Regions from separate parts of the Homo sapiens genome. Here all the other regions are linked to region 3. The links are contacts of gene promoters, found by promoter capture Hi-C in blood cells and fetal thymus (Javierre and others, 2016). All regions are on one chromosome and are shown on one strand. Each heading gives the region's core, a stretch centred on a gene start or on the middle of the fragment in contact. The rest is flanking DNA. Distances are from core to core; before and after follow the strand shown.

The links. Contacts are between HindIII fragments. The CHiCAGO score rates a contact against its expected background, and 5 or more counts as called.
Region 1: a fragment that was not itself captured here is called in contact with the fragment with the promoter of EDDM3A in region 3 in 4 of 17 cell types (M0 macrophages, M1 macrophages, M2 macrophages and 1 more); the score reaches 5.9 in M0 macrophages.
Region 2: a contact is called between a fragment that was not itself captured here and the fragment with the promoter of EDDM3A in region 3, in 13 of 17 cell types (M2 macrophages, naive B cells, M0 macrophages and 10 more). The highest score is 15.9, in M2 macrophages.

Annotation. Positions count from the first base shown.
Region 1 is chr14:20,845,384-20,848,831 of GRCh38, forward strand. No RefSeq gene overlaps it. Among named protein-coding and RNA genes, the nearest start is that of RNASE1, 44 kb to the left of the region's middle. The HindIII fragment of the contact is 8,402 bases long and covers 1-3,448 here.
Region 2 is chr14:20,867,680-20,871,232 of GRCh38, forward strand. LOC100507513 (a long non-coding RNA gene) reads right to left here. Exons shown (of 4, transcript XR_110261.4): 4 at 2,556-2,777. Among named protein-coding and RNA genes, the nearest start is that of RNASE3, 22 kb to the right of the region's middle. The HindIII fragment of the contact is 5,154 bases long and covers 1-3,553 here.
Region 3 is chr14:20,744,343-20,747,983 of GRCh38, forward strand. It overlaps EDDM3A (epididymal protein 3A), which reads left to right and starts at 1,545. Exons shown (of 2, transcript NM_006683.5): 1 at 1,545-1,650; 2 at 3,213-3,641. The coding sequence starts at 3,239. All of the region lies in intron 2 of LOC107984671 (a long non-coding RNA gene), which reads right to left. The HindIII fragment of the contact is 4,056 bases long and covers 1-3,592 here.

The DNA.
Region 1 (3,448 bases), core at 356-2,855, 100 kb after region 3:
GCAATAAATATAAATGGTCCAGTTAAAACACAACACTGATGGAGGAAAATCTAACTCTATGATGTTTACAAGAAATACTTCAAAAATGTAAGAATTCAGAACTCTGGAGAATGAAAAGATAGAAATGATAAAAATTGCAGCATAGTCATGCTTTAGAATCCTTTAGGGCAATAAAATTGAACAAAATATATCCCTTGTAGCAACATAAATGGATTGAATAAACATAAGGTAGTTCAGTCACAAAAAATATATATACAATGAGATTCTATTTATATAGCATTCAAGAACAGGTGAAATTAAACTGTAATGGTTAGAGACGGATACATAAGTGATATAATTATAAAAAGAAGAAAGGAAATTGTTATCTCAAGCATAATTTTTTTTTTTTCTGGAGGGAAAGAAAGTGCCGTGGTCAGGAAAGAGCACATGGTTGAGAGCTTCAGAAATACTGCCATTGTTCTGTTTCTGACCTTGGCAGAAGTCAAAAGGGTGTCTGCCTCATAGATATTCTTTAAACTTTGCCTACATGTATGATTTTGGCACTCTGGTACGTGTGCGTGACTGTGTGTGTGTGTGTTATATAATGTACCTTATAATTTTTAAAAAATGCTTAAGAAGTAAAGATTTTATTAGATGATTAGATGTGAAAATCAGGAGGTCATGGATTCTTTGCTACAGTAGTTTCAGAGCGTCCTTTTTCCAGCTGAAGAGAATATTAGAGCTAAAGGAACAGAGTCAACAAGGAGCTTGGCAATGAAGAGAAGGAGCCAACTGGTAAGTAGTTTCGGAAGGCTGCGTAGAAGGTGACATGAGATTGTCCATATCCTAAGGAGTCAGTACAGAAGACACTGGAAATACAGGGCACAGATACAGCACAGTCTCAGGAACTGGGCAAAGATGGGATCCAGCTCACAGGCAAAGGTACAGGAGAATGTCCTACCTATAAGAATGTTGGAGGCCAGGCACAGTGGCTCACGCCTATAATCCCAGCATTTTGGGAAGCCAAGGTGGATGGATCGCCTGAGGTCAGGAGTTTGAGACCAGCCTGGCCAACACGGTGAAACCTCATCTCTACTAAAAATACAAAAAGTAGCCCGGTGTGGTGGCAGGCATCTGTAATCCCAGCTACTCAGGAGGCAAGGCAAGAGAATTGAGTGAACCCGGGAGGTGAAGGTTGCAGTGAGCTGAGATCATGCCCCCGCATTTGAGCCTGGGCGACAGAGTGAGACTCTGTCTCTTCAAAAAGAAAGAAAAAAAAAGAATGGTAGAAAGGAAGGGAAGTAGGTACCAAAATGGAAACGGACGCAGCCAAGAAACAAGGAAGTTGACCAAGAATATGAACAGAAGAGGAAGGTCCTTTCAGCAATGGAACCTACTTCTACAACTGGAACTTAAGTCACTATCCCCCTTTGCCTCAGACTTGTTCTGAAACAGGGTTCGGAGAATGTGTGCATCACCTGTGTTGTCTGGATCATGGGGAAAGATAACTGGTACGGAATGACCTGTGACCTGTCACTGAGAGGGCTCACTTCCTGTGCATTAAATCACAGCTACTGTATTCAGATTCATTACACATATTAAAATATGACATTCATCTCTCAGAATATTTCTTTTTTTTTTTTTTTTTTTTTGAGACGGAGTCTCGCTCTGTCGCCCAGGCTGGAGTGCAGTGGCGCGATCTGGGCTCACTGCAAGCTCCGCCTCCCAGGTTCACGCCATTCTCCTGCCTCAGCCTCCCCAGTAGCTGGGACTACAGGCGCCCGCCACCACACCCGGCTAATTTTTTTTTGTATTTTTAGTAGAGACGGGGTTTCACCGTGTTAGCCAGGATGGTCTCGATCTCCTGACCTCGTGATCCACCCGCCTCGGCCTCCCAAAGTGCTGGGATTACAGGCGTGAGCCACCGTGCCCGGCCAGAATATTTCTTAAGTAATTCAACGTATATCACAACTGTAATTTCTTGTTTTTCTTTTTGAGACGGAGTCTCGCTCTGTCGCCCAGGCTTCAGTCCAGTGGTGTGATCTCGGCTCACTGCAACCTCCACCTCCAGGCTTCAAGTAATTCTCCTGCCTCAGCCTCCCGAGTAGCTGGGGCTACAGGCATACGTTGCCACGCCCGGCTAATTTTTTTGTATTTTTAGTAGAGACAGGGTTTCACCGTGTCGCCCAAGCTGGTCTCAAACTCCTGAGCTCAGGCAATCCGCCCGCCTCGGCCTCCCAAAGTTCTGGGATTAAAGGCATGAGCCACCGTACCTGGCCCCAGCTCCGTGATCTGTAAAACAGACAAGCTGGATAACTCACAAAACAATAATAAAGAATAACTGAAATGTATATGTATATTGGGGGTGGATTTAAAGAGGGGTGTAGAGTCGGTTCACCTTTTTAATCTTTCCTGTAATACTGACTGATATTTTTCTGGATGAGTACAGATTTACAGACAAAAGTCCTGATTTAGTATTTTAAAGATAAGTGATTTTTGATCTTCTGTAATTTGTTTCTTTATCTGTAAATTAAAGCACCTTATTCAAAGGGTTATTGTGTGAACTAAATAAAATAACCCAGGTAAAGCATCTAGAACAGTTCAGCCAGCTCAGTGATCAGAGTTGCAGCCTTATTTGCCTGAATAATGAAATAATTATTGATTTAAGTTCCCAGCTATGAAACCATATGTCCCAGTTTGCCCAGGATCTGCTCTATGTATGCTGCTGTCCTGGCTTAATTACTAGTAGTATTCCTTCTCACTCTCAAAAGTATCACAGTTCAGACAGTAAATTAGATGGGCACCCTATTCAGAGCACATAGTAAGCTCTCCATAGATATCATTATATTGTTATTATTACCAGTTTAATATAGCTTCTGAAAAGGTCACAATTAACAGGTAAGTTTGGCTGGCACGGCGGCTCATGCCTGTAATCCCAGCACTTTGGGAGGCCAAGGCAAGTGGATCACCTGAGGTCAGGAGTTCGAGACCAGCCTAGCCAACATGGTGAAACCTTGTCTCTACTAAAAATATGACAATTAACCGGGTATAGTGGCATGCGCCTGTAATCCCAGCTACTCGGGAGGCTGAGGCAGAAGAATCGCTTGAACCTGGGAGGCAGAGGCTGCGATGAGCCGAGATTGAGTCACTGCACTCCAGCCTGGGTGACAGAGCAAAACTGTCTCAAAAAAGAAACAGTTAAGTTTACATTCTGAATTAGTAGGAGTGACAATGATTGAAGTTTTTGACTGGGCAGGAAAGATAGACTGACAGTTCCCTCATTCTATCTTTATATAGAACTGGAGAGCAGCACAGAAGGAGGGGGACATGTCAAGGAATACCAGGCGGGCAGAGCCTGCTTTAAGGCATCTTCCAAAGGTTATGAGTCACTGCAGACACACTGAGAGTCACACTGGGGGAAGGTGCAGCAGACAGGGAGAAGTTCAAAGTGGTGTTTCTGAGAGACTTG
Region 2 (3,553 bases), core at 764-3,263, 120 kb after region 3:
GAGAATCTAGGCTAAGGCTCCTATAAACTTCAATCTCTAGTGAGAGTTTTATCATAAAGTCCAGGCAGCTGTGCTGTCATTGAACATTGAGCATCAGTATCCCCATATCTCTAAAGGGGAATGCTAAGCTGAGTTTTCTGCAGACCACGACCACCAGCTTTTGAGGTAACTTTAGCCTCCTTATGCAGAAATGAGGAAGAAAATCTTGTAGGTGAGGATCAATGATGCACTAGCTGGGCATCAGTGGCAGCCTGACAGTAAGACACTGATTGTTCCTCTTAAGTTGGTGTATGTCTGTCACTATTACCCTACACATTAGCTTGCTCCCTGCTAGCTTATTGACAGAAACAAATGTAAATGCTGCATTAATCAAGTGTATATGTGTCATAAATATTTTCTCTTAGTATGGCCTATACTTTGAAATCCTGAACCTAAGGGTTTTGGGTTTAACCTTTGGTTATCACTCAAAATGAAACACCTATGTTTTCTTGTAGATCTTGTCCAGAATGGCCTGCTGAATCCTTGAAAGCCGTAAGAGAGACGTATAGCAACCTATTCTGAATCAACTTGTTCAATCTAGCAATTCTGTCACTCTAAGAGAATCTTCTCAGCCTCGTACTCCTTTCTTGGACAACCACTACTTTAAAAGCAGGATCATGTTCAATGGCATTCTGGCAATACAGATGTCCATTAAGTAGAAATGCACAATGTCTACTTGTTGAATATCTAATTGTTCTCCAAATTTATTAACAGGATCTTCTATCTTGATAGGAAAAAAAAATTCATATTTTGAAATCTATCTATCTATCTATATAGATAGATAGATATATTTTCTTTCTGAGAATATATATATTTTTTCTTTTTGAGATGGAGTTTTACTCTTGTTGCCCAGGCTGGAGTGCAATGGCACAGTCTCAGGTCACTGCAACATCCACCTCCTGGGTTCAAGCGATTCTCCTGCCTCAGCCTCCCGAGTAGCTGGGATTACAGGCACCTGCCACCATGCCTGGCTTATTTTTGTATTTTTAGTACAGACGGGGTTTCACCATGTTGGCCAGGCTGGTCTCAAACCCTTGACCTCAAATGATCCACCCGCCTCGGCCTCCCAAAGTGCTGGGATTAGAGGCGTGAGCCACTGCACCTGGCTATATATATATTTTTAGAACTCCTTCTTTCCACAGTGTAGAAAGTACACATTACAAAGCTCAGTCAAATGCCAGGAACTTAAACATCCACACATTAGCATAAATTGTTAATTAATTTCTCAAAAAAAGAAAAAAATGCATCTCACTTGAATTCCAGGGAATCAACCTAAAGTATACTGAGATTCCTAAACTGAACCTTAAAACACAAGACACAGAATCAAAAGTCAAAGAACAAAAGGAACATTCTTCAGCAGGAGATAGGGAGCTGGTTTTAGAAACAGGTGGAGATCACCGAGTCTCAGCATAAGCAAAAGCAACACAGAAACCTAGGCTTTTGAAAAATGTCTAAAATACAGCAAAAGAGAAGGCATTCGAATGTTTTTGTGTAGTAATAGCAGGCTACTAATACAGGAATACAGACTATATTAATCCATGACATTTCAGTGAAACAATAAAAACAACTCTTTGGACATCCAGAAACAAAGGATGTTTTATCTAGTTAACTTTTTTTTTTTTTGAGACAGGGTCTGGCTCTGTCTCCCAGGCTGGAGTGCAGCAGCCCAACCTCGGCTCACTGTGACCTCCACCTCCTAGGCTCAAGCGATCCTCCCACCTCACCCTCCTGAGTAGTCGGGACTACAGGCGTGTGCCACTACGCCCGGCTAATTTTTGTATTTTTTGTAGAGATGGGGTTTCACCATGTTGCCCAGACTGGTCCCAAATTCCTGGACTTAAGTGATCCACTCACCTCACCCTCTCAAAGTGCTGGGATTACAGGCATGAACCACTGCCCCTGGCCCCCTTTTTATTCATATGTGAAGACAATAGAAAGACATTCTTCCATCACTAATATTTACTTAATTAACATTTCTGAGTGCCTTTGATATGACAAGCACTATGCTAAGTGCCATATAGGGAGAGGTGAACAAAACAGACAGGTGCTTGTATCCTAGAAAACTTTGCCTCTGCACACCTTGCTTGTGATAATAATTATAGGGCATATGCCAAACACTGAGCTATAAATCTATGAAGGAAGGATGTTGCTTACTTATCACAAGTGATAACCAGTGATACCAGTATCTATGAGCCATAGAAAAAAAGATTGCCTATTTCCCTGACTAGCTCAGAGGGATACAGCTTAATTCAGAAGATAAAACCTTTTCTTTTTTTTTTCTTTGAGATGGAGTCTTGCTCTGTCGCCAGGCTGGAGTGCAGTGGCGCAGTCTCGGCTCACTGCAACCTCCACTTCCCGGGTTCAAGCAATTCTCCTGTCTCAGCCTCCCGAGTAGCTGGGACAACAGGTGCACGCCACCACGCCCAGCTAATTTTTATATTTTTAGTAGAGACAGGATTTCACCATGTTGGCCAGGTTGGTCTTGATCTCTTGACCTCGTGATCCGCCTGCCTCAGCCTCCCAAAGTGTTGGGATTACAGGCGTGAGCCACTGCACCAAGCCAAGAAAACTCTTTCTTTATGGCAGCATTAGGCACCCCCAATAAGAGCCCACTCACATCATCATGATAGACAGAAACACTGCAGGGGGAAAAATGATCTTGCCTTTGGGCACCAGGACATTGGGACCTCCCAAGTAGTCTGCATCAGTGGATCATAAGGACCAACCATTTATCAAATCTGGGAAAGACAAAAGGCAAGCATAAGATTAAAAAGTAATGCAGGTCTTCGCCAGATGGCTCTGCTGCTTAATAAGTAAAATCACAATCACAGAAGGTGATAACCAAGGATAATTAGGTAAACGACCACACTCCATTTAATCACAGTTCAGAAGATCTTCCCTAATTTCTGCTGAAGTCTCTTCAATAATTTCACCTACCTCTGGAAGAAACTAGAGGACTAATGGGAAGAGTCCATTGGTGTTTATGTGGGAAAAGGAAGGTGCAAGCCATTTCAGCTCAAGGAAAGAAAGGAAGGGAGGGAGGGAGGAAGAAAGAGAAAGAGAAATGAGGAAAGGAAGGAACGGAAAAGAGAGAAAAGAAGAAAGGAGGGTAGAAGAAAGAAAGGAGGGAGGGAGGAAAGAAGAGAAACTGACTTTCCAAAGACACAGCTGAAGCAGCAGCTAAGAGGTAACATTATGAAAGTATGGGGTATCATTCTTCAGGATGCAGTGTATTTATTAAATCAGAGGCCTGTAAAGGGTACTGTGTTCCCAATAGGAAGAATACACGGATCCAGGAACCGAGAAGTAGAAGCAGGAGTAGCTCCACTTACCATCTCTCTGATTGACCCACTCAGATATGTTGTGCTTTCATTTCTGTAACTCTAGGCTCTGCAGGGTCAAAGGTCCAGGTCCCCAAAGAAGATGCACCCTTGCCAACTTACACAGAAAGGTCTCATTGAACTGCAAGCTACAGCTTTTCCCAGGACACTTTGGATTTCTCGTGTCTAGGGAC
Region 3 (3,641 bases), core at 295-2,794:
AACTGAACCTTCTGTCATTCCAACAATAAGGTGGCCCAGTGAGAAAATCAACTAAGGTGGTTTGGCTAGGAGCAGCCTTTGGAAGTGTTGTTAGAAAAGATTTGCAAGAGTCTTACTTTATTCATAAATCGTAACTTTGACTAGTGTTGATGAACCAGTATTGGTCACATTTGCCAATTTGTGGGGAGTTGGCATGGAAAATATGGTGGAAAATTCCGGCTGTGATGTTAAAGGTAACCATTGAACACTTGCACAAACTCAGTTGAAGAAGTTGTGGTCTTGTCAGTTTGAGCTGAGTTCAGGACTGAATCTTGAGGTCCTGAAAAACAACTTAGCCAGCACCTTGTGACCTATACTTCACAGTCAGATGTTACGTATAGTAGCATTGTAGAAACTATGGCCAGGCTATGTGACATTTTAATAGTAAGCAGTACAGTGTCACCAAACAGCTAAAGGTTATAATTAAAAAACTGAGTAGAGAAATTTCAGATACTGGCTACCTAATCATTCATAGCTATTTGGCCACTGTGTTCACTAGATATTCTTTCACCTCTCAATGAAGGTCTCACAATTCACAACATTAAAAGTGATTTTCTGGCCTGACCAAGTGGCTCATGCCTGTAATCCCAGCACTTTTAGAGGCTGATGTGTTGAGGCTTAGCTAGGCTCAGGAGTTCAAGACCAACCTGGCCAACATGGTGAAACCCTGTCTCTACAAAAATTAATACAAAAAACTAGCCAGGCATGGTGTTGCATGCCTATAGTCCCAGCTACTCAAGAGGCTGAGGTGGGAGGATTGCTTGAGCCTGGCAGGTTGAGACTGCAGGGAGCAGTGTTTGTGCGACTGCACTCCAGCCTGGGCGACAGAGCAAGACCCTGTCAAAAAAAAAAAAAAGGCAAAAGACCAGGCACAGCGAGTCACACCTGTAATCCCAGCACTTTGGGAGGCTGAGGCAGGCAGATCATGAGGTCAGGAGATCGAGACCATCCTGGCTAACACGGTGAAACCCCGTCTCTACTAAAAATACAAAAAATTAGCTGGGCGTGGTGACAGGCGCCTATAGTCCCAGCTACTCAGGAGGTTGAGGCAAGAGAATGGGGTGAACCCGGGAGGCGGAGCTTGCAGTGAGCCGAGATCTCGCCACTGCACTCCAGCCTGGGCAACAGAGCGAGACTCCATCTCAAAAAAAAAAAAAAGGTGGCTTTCCTCAGTGAAGTTCCCATGTAACATAGCATAACCCTCCAGGGACTTCCCCAGAAGTTTGTTAGAATTGAGAGCAGAGCTAAGTCTCTGGTTGTCTCCTGATAGCACCAGATAACCCTTTTCTGGGGTCACCTAGGGTCTTGCAATCATTTTGTACCCAGGGCTCAGCCTTTGATGTTTGTAGCCTTTGCTCGAGGCTACTGTTTGAGTGAGCCCAAGTGTTCCAGATGAAACGATACAGGGACAAGTTCACATAATAAGGCTGTTCCCCATCACCACCTCGGCTACCAATCAGCTGGAGCCCTGCAGCTCCCCCTACTATTCCTTTCTCCACTGCTGTAGATTTCCAGGGCTCTGAGAAAAGGAGGAGGACGCAGACTCTGCTCTTCAGATCCACATGCTGATCCCCACTACAATCAGTGACCTGAACTCAGAGTCCAAGTAGGGTAAGAAGGGCTCTGCTGAGGTTGCTCGGGGGACAGCCAGGAACACTGGAAGGAGGCTGATTGAACTTTTAGATAGCAAACAATGGAGAAGGATCCAAATCATGGAAAACAAAGGTCTGAATTCTGGTTAGCCTCAGTCCCACTGATACAGGCTTTTCCCTGCCCCTCCCTTCCTTCACCGCCAGTCCTCCTAAGCACAGTGCATTAAAGCTGCTTGCATCCTACTCTTCTATCTTGTGTAGGCCTTTATCACCAGGACAGGGTTCCACAGATGAGGAACCCTGTGCCTGATGTGGGCATTTGACATCTTTAGAAGTGCTCTCACATGCTTGCATCTCATTAGACTCTTGCAGGTCTGTAGGGAGCTGTGATTAGGCCTATCTGAGGACACCGATACTCAGAGCTATGAATCAGGCTAGAGGTTCAGTAGGGCCAGGAATACTCCTCATGGCAAATGAGGACAGATAGCTGGTAAAGAGATAACTTTTTCAAACGACCATACATCCTATGCTGTGACCACAGTAGCTCTGCGGGGGACTGTTTTAGTTTTGGTGCCTGATTGATTACAGCAACAGTTCTAAACTGATGTCCTTTTATGATGGCATTGTCAATAAGCTCTAACAAATGAAGATCATTTGTAATAGCAGTAATTAGGGAAATGGCCTCTGAGAAGGGATGCCGATAGTTAATAATGATCACATGTTTCACCCAGACTTTGGGGAAAGTGTTATAAGGAAGTCAAGGTTGGAAAAACATCATTTTTCAGAGAAGTGCAATTGCAGCCTGGGCTGTGGTTTCCAGAATCAATGCCTTCTGCCTAGGAACCACCTCCCAAGTAGTTACTCATCTTCTACATTCCCTTAAAATGCAACAATCTTTTCCACTTTGCAGACAATACGCTTAAAATGTCATTTTTCTATTGGACACATGATCTCCTGAGAGCTTATTTGGTAAAAGAGAGCTCGATAGTGATTGGCTCCTCAAATTGGGTAGAAGACAGGGTAGACAGGAGATATTTGAAATTCTCAAAAGGTACTTTATCTATATTTTCCAAATTTGTGTTAGCTCTCACAGGCTAAAGCATATTTTTAGTTCTTAGAAACTGTATTCTTTTTTTTTTTTTTTTTTGAGACGGAGTTTTGCTTTTGTCACCCAGGCCGGAGTGCAGAGGTGTGATGTCGGCTCACCGCAACCTCCGCCTCCCAGGTTCAAGCGATTCTCCTGCCTCAGCCTCTCGAGTAGCTGGGTCTACAGCCACCATGTCCAGCTACTTTTTGTATTTTAGTAGAGATGGGGTTTCACCATGTTGGCCACGGTGTTTCTCGAACTCCTGACCTCAGGTGATACACCCACCTTGGCCTCCCAAACTGCTGGGATTACGGGTATAAGCCACTGTGCCCAGCCCAGAAACTGTATTCTTTAATGAGAATCATCATCTTCTAATATGGAACCAAATAGCAATATAGTGCCCAAGTACCTGCTTGGCAGGGAAAGGAATTTTAAGGTGGAGCTCAGCTCTCTGAGTATAGTCTGGTTAATGCTTTTCTTTCTCTTCCCTGTAGACACGCAGGTGGACGTGGTGACTGAGATGACATCCTCTCTAAAGATTTGGGGCATACTCTTGGCCCTGCTTTGCATCCTTTGCAGGCTGTGTGTATACAGTAACAACATTTACTGGAGAGAATTCATAAAACTTCATTACTTAAGTCCAAGTCGAGAATTCAAAGAGTACAAATGTGATGTCCTCATGAGAGAAAAAGAGGCTCTGAAAGGCAAGAGCTTTCATATGTTCATCTATAGCTTATGGTTCAAAATTCAGCGTGCATGCATCAATGAGAAGGGGAGCGACCGATATAGAAATGCATATGTATGGGCCCCAGGTGCCCTCAAAGTACTCGAGTGTCACTGGGAGAAGTACAACAATAGGTACACAGAGAGCAGAAGCTTCAGCTACATTGAATTCCATTGTGGCGTAGATGGATATGTTGATA